Linked DNA regions of Homo sapiens: region 1 is linked to region 2. Evidence: promoter capture Hi-C in 16 types of primary human blood cells and fetal thymus (Javierre and others, 2016). All regions are on one chromosome and are shown on one strand. Each heading gives the region's core, a stretch centred on a gene start or on the middle of the fragment in contact. The rest is flanking DNA. Distances are from core to core; before and after follow the strand shown.

Evidence for each region. The method cuts DNA at HindIII sites, captures the fragments that hold promoters and counts their contacts. A CHiCAGO score of 5 or more calls a contact.
Region 1: a fragment that was not itself captured here is called in contact with the fragment with the promoter of PITPNA in region 2 in 5 of 17 cell types (erythroblasts, megakaryocytes, naive B cells and 2 more); the score reaches 7.2 in erythroblasts.

The regions. Positions count from the first base shown.
Region 1 is chr17:1,341,430-1,345,095 of GRCh38, reverse strand. It overlaps YWHAE (tyrosine 3-monooxygenase/tryptophan 5-monooxygenase activation protein epsilon), which reads left to right. Exons shown (of 6, transcript NM_006761.5): 6 at 1-821. Among named protein-coding and RNA genes, the nearest start is that of YWHAE, 57 kb to the left of the region's middle. The HindIII fragment of the contact is 491 bases long and covers 1,042-1,532 here.
Region 2 is chr17:1,561,071-1,565,127 of GRCh38, reverse strand. PITPNA (phosphatidylinositol transfer protein alpha) reads left to right here and starts at 2,336. Exons shown (of 12, transcript NM_006224.4): 1 at 2,336-2,587. The coding sequence starts at 2,568. RefSeq lists silencers at 2,164-2,443, 2,514-2,563, 3,044-3,173 and enhancers at 2,016-2,515, 3,284-3,383. The HindIII fragment of the contact is 8,315 bases long and covers 1-3,475 here.

The sequences.
Region 1 (3,666 bases), core at 38-2,537, 220 kb after region 2:
GTGATGCAAGCATCTAAGAGAGAGGTTAATCACACTATAGAGGCATAAGTGGTATCAGTTTTCATTTTTCTAATTGTTTAAACTGTGTTTTATACCAGTGTTTGCAAGTAATTGGGTGTTAGCTTGAGATGGTTAAAGGTGGTTTGGGGAGGGACTTCGTTGTAATGGTTTTGCTGTAAAAAATGTTTCCAACTCCGCTGAAATGTTGCTGAAAAGCATGGTGCTGGTAACAGTTCAACAATCCGTGGCTGCTCATTCTTGCCTACTTTACTCTCCCACTGAAGCAGGTTAGCGTTGAAGGTGGTATGGAAAAGCCTGCATGCCTGTTCAATTCTTTTGTTTCTTCTCCTTCCCCCTCCCCCTACCTCCTTCCCCTCACTCCTCCCCTCCTTCGCTCGCTCAACCTCTTTTGTTCAGTATGTGTAACTTGAAGCTAATTTGTACTACTGGATATCTGACTGGAGCCACAGATACAGAATCTGTATTGTTCTTACTGAAACACAGCATGGAATTAACATTAAACTTAAATAAAACAAACCTAAATTAAAAATGCCAAATATCGCGCCTCCATCCTTTATACTTCTAAAATAAAATCTCTAGTCCAAACACACTGACAGTATTATGTTTGCCTGAATGTGAAACATTCCTCCTTTTTTCTTCCATAAATAATTTGTTTGCTTCCCAAAGATGTATGTTTTGGAAAAAAATTGCCTGTAGTCTGGTTGTGAAGAACACTGAGTCAGTTGATGGTGTGTCTTGTCCTCCAGACCAGGCAGCAACATGGTATTTATTTTAATCATTAAAGTACAACATGAGTAGTACAAGGTGTAATTATGGATCATTTTCTAGCATAGTATTTCATACAACCAAATAAGGCTGAATGTCTTATAATAATTCTTAGAGGTAAAAACTGTGTGCCCTCTTCCTCCAGAGGCTAGTGGCAGTAGTGGAGAATTACTCAATCCTTTCTTAGTAATCCATACACACATTATAGACAGCAGGATAGCAGTCTCCCTTTCCAGAAACACTGTATAAGAAGCTTCTTTCCATAAACAGTTTATACATCAATGTGTATAGATACCTAGTTACTGTAGATCTTTTTATGTTAGGCATTCAGATGTGTCTCATTCTGACTGCGTAACATTGATGTACACCTGATTTTGTTAAGACCAGTTTGCTCCTTTTGGGCAGGTGCTGCAGGAAATACCCTTGGAACAGTTTTTGCTTAAATATTTGTATGTATCTGGAAGGTACATTTCTAGATTCCCTGTGTCAGTAAACATTTTTCAGTTGATAAATCCTTCCTCGTCACACTTGTCTTCTAAAATTGGATGTTGAGACTGCAAGTTTACTCTCGGTTTAAAGTGTTAGTAGCAGAGATTTAGGAAATGAACAGATCAGCGATATCCTAGTAGCGTTTAGTGAGTGCTGGCAATGAGAATAAACATGTTTTTGTGAGTTGCTTTTCCGAGAGATAGGGAGACCATTGAATATAATTATATGCTGCTGTTTGGAGCAACCTCCAAGAAGCTTTCAAGTTGATTTGCTCTGTTTCCAGCACACCTGCTACACTTAAAGGTCAAAATCCAAGGAATTCGTCAAGTCTGTTGCAGAGTTTAAAGAAACCACTCGGCTGGGTGCGGTGGCTCACACCTGTAATCCCTGCAATTTGAGAGGCCGAGGCGGGCGGATCACGAGGTCAGGAGATTGAGACCATCCTGGCTAACACGGTGAAACTCCGTCTCTACTAAAAGTACAAAAAATTAGCCAGGCATGGTGGCGCACGCCTGTACTCCCAGCTACTCGGGAGGCTGAGGCAGGAGAATCGCTTGAACCCGGGAGGCAGAGGTTGCAGTGAGCCGAGATCACGCTACTGCACTCCAGCCTGGGCGACAGAGTGAGACTGTCTCAAAAAAAAAAAAAAGGAAAGATCCTTATCAAAAATTGAAAGGCCGGGTGCGGTGGCTCACGCCTGTAATCCCAGCACTTTCGGAGGCCGTGGTGGGTGGATCACGAGGTCAGCAGTTAAGAGACCAGCCTGGACAACATGGGGAAACCCTGTCTCTACTAAAAATACAAAAAAATTAGCCAGGCGTGGTGGCGGGCGACCTTGCTGGGTGTAATTAACATCCAGTGACTTGGGAGGCCTGAGGCAGGACAATCGCTGGAAACTGGAAGGCGGAGCTTGCAGTGAGCCAAGATCGCGCCACTGCACTCTAATCTGGGCAATAAGAGCAGAACTCCGTCTCAAAAAAAAAAAAAAAAAAAAAAAATTGAAAGGGAGCCAGGGAAGCTGCAGAAAGGTGCCGTAGCCCTGTGAGGACGGTGTCACTCCCAGTTCCTGTATTTGTGGGCTGGAAAGGGAATTGCCCCCAAACTTTTCTGGTTTTGATTTGAGTCTTACTTTGAGGATCAGTCGACTTAAGTAGAAGTTTTTAGTTAGTTACAACTTGAATGTAGCTAATATGTGTTTTTAATTACAAATCTCAGTACTTTGCTGCCTTGGAAAACCCAAAGGCTTCCTACAATGTTAGAAGCGACAGTAAGTGGGTTTGTGTACATGCTCTGTTCCGGGTGGGTCCTCAGAACAGCACGTCTGCAAAGTTAAATTTCGGTCCTATAGGAAGATGGGGATGAACTTCCATCACTGAAAGGGGAAACTGGTGGGATAAATGGAGACATTAATTGGCTTCTGTCCCAGACAAATGCCTTGAGCCTTATAAATGAGACCCCAAATTAGCTGCTTCCTGATCCTAGGACAATAGAGGAGAGTGAGGCTTGCTGAAAAAGCGGGATAAAGGTGTGACCCCTGTGTTCTTTTGAAAATTGTAACAAGTAATAGTTCATGGAAAACTGGTGAAATCCTAGAGTGTGTCATTAAAGGAAGCCTTTGTGAGCACTGTGAGAGGAAATGGGAATGCTCCCAGATCCAACCTGGATCAGGAAAACCAAGCCCTGTGTTGTTTTATCCTGTTTCTTTGAGTTCGTAGGATTGTAATAGATACTGTTAATATTTAGCTAACATTGGCCGGGCGCGGTGGCTCACGCCTGTAATCCCAGCACTTTGGGAGGCCGACGTGGGCGGATCACGAGGTCAGGAGATCGAGACCATCCTGGCTGACACGGTGAAATCCCGTCTCTACTAAAAAATACAAAAAATTAGCCGGGTGTGGTGGCGGGCGCCTGTAGTCCCAGCTACTCGGGAGGCTGAGGCCGGAGAATGGCGTGAACCCGGGAGGCGGAGCTTGCAGTGAGCCGAGATCGCAGCACTGCACTCCAGCCTGAGCGACAGAGCGAGATTCTTGTCTCAAAAAAAAAATAATAATAGTTTTGCTAACATTGCGTACCAGCTTTGCACCAGGCACTGTGCTCGTTACTAAGCAATGTCTGGAATCTCACACGTAAGCGCTCAATAATAATCAGGTGAGCCTGCATTGTGCAGATGGGAAAAGCTGAATGGGAAGTAGTTAAGGAACTTGCTGAAAGCTGCATGGCTAATAATTCAAATACAGAATTCAGTTCATCTGTGTCACTGAAGAGTCTCATTAGGCCATACTACCTTTTGCTCTTCATTAAAACTATTTTCTTGAAATACTATATTCCCCCTTATTAATATATTCTAAAGTGATCATTTAAAGTATTTAAACTTTTTTTTTTTTTTTTTTT
Region 2 (4,057 bases), core at 1,087-3,586:
CCTCCTGCCTCAGCCTCCCGAGTAGCTGGGACTACAGGCGCGTGCCACCACACCCAGCTAATTTTTGTATTTTTAGTAGAGACAGGGTTTCACCATTTCAGCCAGGATGGTCTTGATCTCTTGACCTGATGATCCGCCCGCCTCAGCCTCCCAAAGTGGTAGGATTATAGGAGTGAGCCACCGCGCCCGGCTGTGCCACATTTTCTTTATCCAGTCTGTCATTGATGGGCATTTGGGTTGGTTCCAAGTCTTTGCTATTGTGAATAGTGGTCGGCTTGTTTTTTTGAGACAGAATCTTGCTCTGTCGCCCAGGCTGGAGTGCGGTGGCATGATCTCGGCTCACTGCAACCTCTGCCTCCAGGGCTCAAGCGATTCTCCTACCTCAGCCTCCCGAGTAACTGAGACGACAGGCACATGCCACCACACTGAGCTAATTTTTGTTTTAGTAGAGATGGGGTTTTACCATGTTGGCCAGGCTGGTCTTGAACTCCTGGCCTCAAGTGATTCGCCCGCCCCAGCCTCCCAAAGTGCTGGGAATCCAGGTGTGAGGCACTCAGCCTGGCCCCCACTCTAGGATCTGATAAGTGAGCACAGTGCTCAGGGCAGTCGCGGGCCGCCAGTCACATCCTGATAGCAACACGGCCAGCTGCTCCACCCTCCCTTCCCAAGTCCCTGTCTTAGGCAGCCCACTCCCATCTCCCCTGGATGCCCCTCTAGCGTCCTGCGCTGAGTGTGAGTCCAGCACTGGAGTCATTACCTGCCCCCATGCCAGCCTGTCTTGCCTGTGTTCTCAGAGAAGACAGTACCGTCCACCCCGGCTCCCAGGCCAGAGACCTCGCTGCTTTTCTCTCCTCCTCTCAGCCAATGAGTCAACAAGTCTCACGGAGTTTACCTTCTGAGTTGCTCCTGAATCCATCCCTTCCTTTTCTTCCCTCCCACTGTCCTAGTCCACCTGCACCTGGACATCTGCAGCAGCCTCCTCGCCGGTCTCCCTGCCTACGCTCTGGCATTCCATCCCCTCTGTCCACCCAACCACTAGAGTGAGCCTTCGCCCAGGACACCCGCTCATGTCACTGCTCAGAGCCCTTACATGCCCTCCCACCGCCCTTAGGGTGGACTCCAAATACCTTATCATCGTTCACCAGGAACCCTCCCCTATTGAGCTGCTCAGCCCTGAAATGTTCTGTTCCACTCACTTGTCAGTTCTCCAAATGCACCATGCTCTCCCTCTTGCCTCCAGCCTTTGCATTCACTCTGCCTGCTATGCTCTTCTCCGAAGCCCTCTGCAGATCTGAGAATCTCTTCCTCCAGGAAGCCTTCCCTGACTACATCCCTGACGCTCAATTAGGTGCCCCTCCGTGTAATGCCGCTAAGCCTGTGTCTCATTTCTCACAGCCCTTTTCATTCTTTTTTTTTTTTTTTTTTTTGATGCAGAGTCTCGCTCTGTCGCCCCAGCTGGAGTGCAATGGTGCGATCTCGGCTCACTGCAACCTCCGCCTCCAGGGTTCAAGCGATTCTCCTGCCTCATCCTCCCGAGCAGCTGGGACTACCACCACCACGTCCACCACCACGCCCGGCTAATTTTTGTACTTTTAGTAGAGATGGGGTTTCGCCATCTGGTCTGGAACTCCTGACCTCAGGTGATGCGCCCGCCTGAGTGCTGCATTACAGGCATGATGTGCCTGGGATTACTGCCAGGAGCCACCGCGCCCGGCCTCACAGCCCTTTTCTTTTCTTTTTTTTTTTTTTGAGACGAAGTTTCACTCTTGTCCCCCAGGCTGGAGTGCAATGGCGCGATCGCGATCTCGGCTCACTGCAAACTCTGCCTCCCGGTACAAGCGATTCTCCCGCCTCAGCCTCCCGTGTAGCTGGGATTACAGGTGCGTGCCTCCACGCCCAGCTAATTTTTGTATTTTTAGTAGAGACGGGGTTTCATCATGTTGGCCAGGCTGGTCTCGAACTCCTGACCTCAGGTGATCCGCCCGCCTCGGCCTCCCAAGGTGCAAGGATTACAGGCGTGGGCCACCGCGCGCGGCTATTAATATTTTTTGAAACAACCTTTTCCTGGGTCTCAATTCCCTCAACCGGGGAGGCCCCCCAGCCAGCACCCGCGTGCATCCGTGGCGGTTCACACCGAGGACGGTGACGGACACCCTAGTCTGCTCCGCCTTCTGCCGGGTCTGGCCCCAGCCGCGGGGCCCCACCTCGGAACCGACAGCGCCGCCGCGGCCCACTTAAGGACGGGAGGGCGGGCCTGGGAAGGCTCGGCCCCGCGTGACGTCAGCGCGCACCGCGGCGTGTGACGCTCTGGTTGCCGCAGAGACGCCCCGCCCCCGCGCGGCGCTGCGGAACCGGAGCTCCGGGCGGCGTCGGCAGCGGCGCGAGAGGCGACGAGGCCCGGGCGGCAGGAGCCGGCGCGGCGACCGCGGCGAGGGCGGCGGGGACGGAGCAGAGCACGACGAAGACGCACAGGCAGCCGGGCCGGGCCGGGCCACGGGGAGAGCGGCCGGCGGGCAGCGGGCGGGAGGCCGGGCGGGCCGCGGGCAGCCACCGAGCCGCGAAGCGACATGGTGCTGCTCAAGGAGTAGTGAGTGTCCGGCGGCCGTGCGGAAGCGGGGAGGAGGGAGGGTGGGGACGGCCGCCGGGGCGACGGCGCGGCGAGGGACGCAGGGCCCGGATGGACGGAGGGGCAGCAGGGACGGAGGGTGCCTGAGGCGGGCCCAGCGGGGATGGAGGGGATCCGGGGCGGGCGGCACGTGAGGCGGGGCCCACGGGGCACGGAGGGGCGGCCGGGGCGTGGAGGGGCGGCCGGGGCGTGGAGGGGCAGCCGGGGCGTTCGGCATCTGAGCCGGGGCCCACGGGGCATGGACGGGCAGCCGGGGCATGGAGGGGCCCACGGGCACGGAGGGACAACCCGGGCGGACGGCTCCTCAGGCGCCCCGGGGGCCTCGGAGGCCCAAGTGGACCCGAGGAGAGGCCGGGGACAGCGAGGGCGAGGCCAGGCCCGAGACGGGGTCAGGGCAGGGAGAGCTGGCCCGGGACTGGGGGAGGCCGAGGGGACGCCGAGCGCTGGGAGTGCTGTGGGGTCGCTCTGCGCGGGCCGAGGGCGCGGGCTCAGCCGGGACTGCAGGCGGCGCTGAGAGGCCCCGCGGCGGCCGAGGAAGAGGCGCACCGGGGCAGGCAGGGCCTCCCGGCGGTGGGGAAAGGTGGAGGGCCGAACAGTTCACACGGAGAGCCGGGTGGATGGGTCAGAGGCTCCGCGATGGAGTTGGGATGGGGATGGGGAGGAGTGGCCGCCTTAGGCATCGGGTGAGGGGTGGTGGTAAGTGGACACAGGAGGAGGACTAGGAAGTCAGGGCCTGGCTGGGGAGACAGGTGAAGGGTCTGAGGACATGCAGAGGGGGCTGAGATGCGGGCCGGAGTAACCGTGGTGCCCAAGCAGCTGGTGCGGAAGAGGAGGCTTTTGGAACAAGCTTGGGATGACTGCTTGGGACGTGGGGAGACTTGGGCGAGGAGGCCAGAAAATGTTGGGTAGGGTCCGAAGTGGAGAAGGCCGGGAAGTTACCGGGGTCGAGGCTGGTCCGGAAAGAGAGTATGTTGGGATGAGTATACCTGCCGTTGGAGATGGGGGAGACCAGGGCAGGGCCAGCTTGTTTCTAGGGGATTCTCAGTCTTGGTGCAAAGAGATGGGGAAATTCTTTGAGGAATTGAGGGGTCCATGGAGCCGTGAACTGAGGAGAGATGGTGGAAGGGGTGGGGAGCTCTTGAGTAGTGAAGAGGGGTGCGTGGGAAACTGGTGACTTCTGGAAGGAGTTGCAGGATGACGGGTTTGCTCCTGAAATCCAGGGGACTGGGGGACAGGTGGAGATGTTTGGTGTGCTAAATCTTTCAAGTACAAGATGAGCCATCGTTGAAGCTCAGGGTTCCAAGTAAGCATCACAGGACATTTTTCTCCCCAAAGAGGAGAGATAGGATGGGTGTGTGTGTGTGTGTGCGTGTGCGTGTGTGCACAGAATTTACAGTGAAACTGCTTTCCTGGAGGGAGGGCCAGAAGCCC